2 separate regions of the Homo sapiens genome follow, and region 2 is linked to region 1. The links are contacts of gene promoters, found by promoter capture Hi-C in human tissues and cell types (Jung and others, 2019). All regions are on one chromosome and are shown on one strand. The core of a region is centred on a gene start or on the middle of the fragment in contact, and the rest is flanking DNA. Distances in the headings are between cores, read along the strand shown. Region 1 holds the start of UQCRC2 (ubiquinol-cytochrome c reductase core protein 2). Region 2 holds the start of EARS2 (glutamyl-tRNA synthetase 2, mitochondrial).

The links. The method cuts DNA at HindIII sites, captures the fragments that hold promoters and counts their contacts. A contact is called where the count stands out against the background at its distance.
Region 2: a contact is called between the fragment with the promoter of EARS2 here and the fragment with the promoter of UQCRC2 in region 1, in 1 of the 25 tissues and cell types used here (spleen).

Annotation. Positions count from the first base shown.
Region 1 is chr16:21,951,947-21,954,839 of GRCh38, forward strand. UQCRC2 (ubiquinol-cytochrome c reductase core protein 2) reads left to right here and starts at 1,415. Exons shown (of 14, transcript NM_003366.4): 1 at 1,415-1,510. The coding sequence starts at 1,478. RefSeq lists enhancers at 748-1,207, 1,296-2,013, 1,528-1,697, 1,708-1,757. The HindIII fragment of the contact is 13,220 bases long and covers 1-2,893 here.
Region 2 is chr16:23,555,579-23,558,618 of GRCh38, forward strand. It overlaps EARS2 (glutamyl-tRNA synthetase 2, mitochondrial), which reads right to left and starts at 1,772. Exons shown (of 9, transcript NM_001083614.2): 1 at 1,627-1,772. The coding sequence starts at 1,765. UBFD1 (ubiquitin family domain containing 1) reads left to right here and starts at 2,149. Exons shown (of 7, transcript NM_019116.3): 1 at 2,149-2,189; 2 at 2,372-2,701. The coding sequence starts at 2,165. RefSeq lists enhancers at 457-1,101, 1,462-1,741, 1,746-2,390, 1,932-2,131, 2,391-3,034 and silencers at 2,202-2,291, 2,392-2,571. The HindIII fragment of the contact is 16,025 bases long and covers 1-3,040 here.

The DNA.
Region 1 (2,893 bases), core at 165-2,664:
CATGTACATTATTCGGGTGATGGGTACACTAAAAGCCCAGACTTCACCATTACTGCAATATATCCATATAACATAACTGTACTTGCGCCCCTTAAATTTATACAAATTTTTAAAAGGAAAAAATGGAAGTGTTCATCTATGTACCAACTTAAAATCATCTCACGCACCACTAGTGTTAAATCTACCACATGTGGGGAAACTGTGTGGTATGAATTGGGTTGAGGGCGTCCCCAGCAGGCACAGAAATTGGGTTGGTGCCAGGTTCTTAATGCCCAGATCTTAATTAGAGAGCCCAAGTCCGTTGTAGGCCTGGAGCAATTCAGACACAAGGCAAAAAGAAAGTACATTTGCCTATGCCTTGTAACGTCTACACCACCAGCCTTTCTGAAACTATTGTGCATACGAAGTCATCCCAGGATCTTGTAAAAACACCGATTCGGATCCAATATGGGACCTGGAGTTCATACATTTCTAATCAACTCCTAAATGATATTGATGCTGATACTGTCGGTTTCCCAACCAAGCAACGTAGCAAGGTACGAAACTCTAAAGTCCCTAAAGGGCAGGGACCACGCCTCTCGCGTTGGCATAGTGCCTAGCTCAAGGCACTTTCTGGGTTAACACTCGCTGAGGACCGGAGTGAACGCCCCCGCCCCAAGTCGTCACGTGACTGACTTTCTCCAACTGCCGGTTTCGGCTCACATAACACACCTACTATCCAAAACATTTCTATTTTCCTAACACAAAAACTATAGCTAAGTTTTTATATTCTATGTAGCCCCAGCCTAGGACGTAAATTCCACGAGACCAAAAGCCTTGTGATGATTCCCCGAGGTTGCTGACCCTCCCGGTGTGTCCCGGGCCTGCTCTGGGGGACACAGCGGCGAATACGTTGAACGAGGCCCCTGTTTCACGGAGCTAAAGATCCAGTAAGGACTTCACCCAGCGAGAGGCAACTACGCCGGGCTTCGATACCCAATACCTCTGCAGAAAGGTGGAGTGGCAGGAATCTCCTGAAGCCTCCAACGTCCAGGAACGCGGAAACCCAGGGCCTCCAGTGCAGGTGTCATCCCGGAGGGCGCATGCGGAGTCCCAAGAGAGGCGCGTCCCATTGGACAATGCTGAGCGGAAGAGCCCAAGATAGCGGGGGGAGTTGTGACAGGCTGCTGCAGACGTACTTAGAAAAGGGGTGCATACTGGATATTCAGGCTAGGAGAAGAACGCAAAAAGCAGTGACGTACATTATTCTCTGCATATATTTACTTGGGAAATTGTGCGTCTCCCTATTCTGAGTCTTGGAGGAATTGGACTGGTCCAACCTTATAAAGAGAGCAGTAGAGCGCGGCAGTATAGAGAGTACCTCACGAAGGGGACGTGGGAAAGTGTTAGCGGGGAACGCTGGGAAACTCCCGGCCTCCGCCACCATCTTGCTTTCCTTTAATCCGGCAGTGACCGTGTGTCAGAACAATCTTGAATCATGAAGCTACTAACCAGAGCCGGCTCTTTCTCGGTGAGCTCAGGTGGCGGGTTTGGGAAAGGGCTGGGGAGCAGTGTGTCGACAAGGTGATACGAGGCGGAGGTGTCTGGTCTGGGGTCTGGGCCTTGGGATTCGGTCTGCCCTTCAGCTGAACCCTGCGGGCCAAGTGGGCTGCAGACTGGGTCAGGCTTTGGAGGCCCAGCTCATGCTGTGAGCACAAGAGACCTAACACCGGGAAACCTGAAGAGAGGGGCAGGACGTGAGAGCGGAGTTGAAGCGAGTCCTTGGAGAGACTTCTGAAGGTCACTCCGGTACTCAAGTGCTGGAGAAAGAGACCGTGAAACCCAGGGGGAGCGGGAGGACGGCGCACTTAGCCCCCCACCTTCACTTTATCCGCTGCAGCCTCTGCTCCTTGGTTTATCACGGAGCGTCAGTTTCCCCAGCGAATAAAAGTATAAGAAAGGAGCTAATGCAGATAGAACACTTATTACAGTACCTGGAACTTCATTGTTAAATACTATGGTGTCTTAGTAGTCTAACGTTGCTTTTCTTGATCGTATGTTAGACGGTTCCTCCAAGACGTCTCTGTTTGTCCTCAAAAGCTCCTTAATTAAGTTTCCCCTTCAAGCCTAAATTAAACATAGCTGTCACTTGGGGAAAACTCACACATCAGGGTTATATCACTGTGGGACAGTGGTTATTAAGAGGGGTAAGGGGGAACACTTAAAAAATCATAGCGAGGGACAGAATGCCCCCAGGGAACCGGTGGCGATGTTTGGAGACATATTTAGTTGCAACAACTTGTAAGGAGGGTGCTATTGGCATGGAGAGGCCAGGGATGCTGCTAAACTTCGCCTTACAGCAAAGAATTATCTAGCCCCAAGTGCCAGTAGTAGTACCTGTGTTGAGAAACCCCCCTAGATGGAGATGCAGAAGACCAGACCTGGGCATGGAATGTTCTTATGCTTTATGTTTACATAAATGTGCTGTGGGCTATATCGATTTAGGCTGTAATTGCATTAACCTTCCAGGTATACCTAGACACACCAGTGATTACCCTTGGAGGGAAGCACGGTTAGATTGGCAAAAGACCCCAACATTTCCTTCTCCATTCTATTTTGCAACAGAAAAAGCTCAGAGAAAACAGTTGGAGAGGCCCAAAGTAAACAAATTGCAGTAAACTTGAAAGCAATTATTTATGTGTCTAATTTTAGCACTTTATATAGGAGAATAAACTTAGATATATCTTGTTATTAGAACAAAATAATTTAGAAGATTGCATGACAGTTACTAGGATAATTTGCTGATTTGAATGGGACGATTAAGAAGCACATTACCGGCGGAGCGCGATGGCTCACACCTGTAATCCTAGCACTTTGGGAGTCAGAGGCAGGCGGATCACTTGAGATGAGGAGT
Region 2 (3,040 bases), core at 522-3,021, 1.6 Mb after region 1:
TTTGGCATTCTACATAAGTGCTCTTCAAAGCAAAGTGTGCAATCCAGTGCTGGTCTGAAAACAGTTGTCAGTTCACAATCAAGTACAGAAACTGAGAGTAAAGGTTTAGAAACTTTTGTTGTTGTTTTGAGATGGAGTCTCACTCTGTCACCCGGGCTGCAGTGCGGTGGCACGATCTCGGCTCACTGCAACCTCTTTCTCCTGGGTTCAAACGATTTTCAGCCTCCTGAGTAGCTGGGATTACAGGCCTGGGCCACATGCCCGGCTAATTTTTGTATTTTAGTAGAGACAAGGTTTTGCCATATTGGCCAGGCGAAACTTACATAGCAATCTGGCAGAATGATTTTACCTCTGCTAACCCAAATAAAATGAGATTGGTTTGTATTTTGGATGTTTTCAAAATTTTATTTTTCTGGTCATTATATTAATTTTGTGCAAATATTGATACACAATTGATTGGAAATTTAAAACCAGCACTTCCACAACAGATGGTTTGAAAGGCACTGCTCTAGGCTATACTGCCTGCCAGAAAGATCCTGTCATGTATAGCTGGGATTTTACTACAAAGATCTTTGTATGTTCATCCTGGGATTTGGGATGAGAGGCATACTCCGTGTAGAGAACGTAGAAGGTAGCCTTACTGGTGGGAACCAAAAGGCCCTGACGAGATCTCCAACAGGCTATACAATGGGCCTCTGTCACCCTCTAGCTTGCTAAGCTCCCAACAGCACTAGCACAGTGCCTTGGTACCTGCGATTTCCTCTACCCAGAAGGTTCCTTCTTTTTTGTTTTTGAGACACAGTTTCGCTCTTGTTGCCCAGGCTGGAGTGCAATGGCGCGATCTTGGCTCACCGCAATCTCCACCTCCTGCGTTCAAGCGATTCTCCTGCCTCAGCCTCCCAAGTAGCTGGGATTACAGGCATGCGCCACCATGCCCAGATAATTTTGTATTTTTAGTAGAGACAGGGCTTCACCATGTTGGTCAGACGGCTCTCAAGTGATCCACTTGACCTCAAGTGATGCACCCACCTCTGCCTCCCAAAGTGCTGGGATTACAAGCGTGAGCCACCGCGCCTGGCCTCCAGAAGGTTCCTTCTATAGGCTTCACATAGCGTGCTCCTTCTTGTCATTTGGATCTCAGCTCAAATGTTACCTGCTCAGTAAAGCCTTCTGGAGCGTCCTTCTTAATCCCCAGTCTCCTATCCTGTTTCACTTCCCGCATGGCACATGTGACTCTAAAATTACACTTATTTTTTATAAGTGTCTGCGGCAGCCACTAGAATGCAGACTTCCACAGAGCAAGGCCCCTACCTTTCTCAATGATCACTGTATCCCAGCGTCTACAACACCTGTTACACAGGTTGTCATCAATGCACATGTATGGAATGCATGAAAAAAAGATCGAAAGAGATGGGATGGCACAAAAAACACAAGAAACTCCTGGCAATTTGAATTATTTCCGCTCCTGCACCTCAGTTTCCGCCTCTGTAAAATGGGCTCGCGCTGCCTTAACCCTCCTCCGCCCGCCCACTCTGACACCACCGGAAAGGATTCATTCGGGAACATTCGTGGGGCGGAGACGGGACAGGGGGCCTCGGCCTGTAGCGTCACGTCCGCCAGGGTTACCTGTGGGGCTGGGAGCGAACCGCACTCGCACCGCAACCCCGGCATCAGTGCCCAGGTTGGCCTCGCGCCGTCCTACGGGGCGGCCAGAGGCCGCCGAAGGCCTCTCGCGCTGCAGCAGTCTCCTCAGGAGCGCCGCCATGTGGGATGGAATAGCACACGTGGGCTTCTCCCTGCGTCACTTCCGGGGACTGCTTCCAGCCAATCGGCCTCCGCCACAGCCAGCGCAGCCTTGCCCCTTAAAGTCACAGGCCCCCTAGCGCGAAATCCCACGCCCCCCTGGACGGCTGCGGCCGCACTCGCCACCAGGGGGCAGAGGCCAGAGAAAGGGCTATTTCCCGGACCCGCCCCCTTCAGCTTGGGAAAGCGAAAGCGTGGCAGGGGCCGGACCTGGGAGCGGAGGAGGCGGGTCTCCATAGAAACCTCCACCTGTTTCCGGCCGGGCTGTGAGAGATTAGGGGCTGCTGCGGGGGCCAATCTCAGCCAGCTCGCCTCTTCCCAGCGGCCTCTGCGGGAGCGGTGGGTGTTGTACACAATCATCATGGCGGCGGCCGGGGCCCCGGATGGTGAGTGCGGCGGGGGTGGCGGGCGCCGGGCCGGGGCTGAGGTTGCGGTCGCTCCTCTGGGGGATGCGGCCCGGCCCGGGAGGGAGAACCGCGGCTCGGGAACGGAGGTCCGGCGGCGCCCGGACAGCGTCCGTTCCCAAGCCCAGCCCGCGGCGAGCGCCCACCCCCTAACCCCCTTGCAGGCATGGAGGAACCTGGCATGGACACGGAGGCCGAGACTGTGGCTACTGAGGCTCCCGCGCGGCCCGTCAACTGCCTGGAGGCTGAAGCCGCGGCGGGGGCGGCGGCCGAGGACTCCGGCGCCGCACGAGGCAGCCTGCAGCCGGCCCCGGCCCAGCCCCCTGGGGACCCCGCAGCCCAGGCCTCGGTCAGCAACGGCGAAGACGCGGGCGGCGGCGCGGGCAGGGAGCTGGTGGACTTGAAGATCATCTGGAATAAGACCAAGCATGACGTGAAGTTCCCCCTGGACAGCACAGGCTCCGAGCTGAAACAGAAGATCCACTCGATTACAGGTAATTCCTGTGGCGCTGACAGCCAGTCTTCCCCACCCCGCCTCCTGATGGCCCTTGCACCCTACTAGGCACCTGGTGGCTTTCCTTGCATCAGGTCCCCCCATCCTTACAGCAGTCTTCTGAAGGATACTTGGATGCCCATTACTCAGCTGGGGAAAGAGACTCAAGTTTATAGAGCTAGTAAGTTGCAGAGCTGGGATTAAAGCCGAAGTCTGACGTTTAGGCCCCAGTTTCTCATTGATGTTGCTCTAACATCTCTAATTAAAAAATCACCTAAGGCGCTTGTTTTACAGCTTCTGGGCCCTTTCCCAGGAGATTCTGATTCAGTGGGTCTGGGAT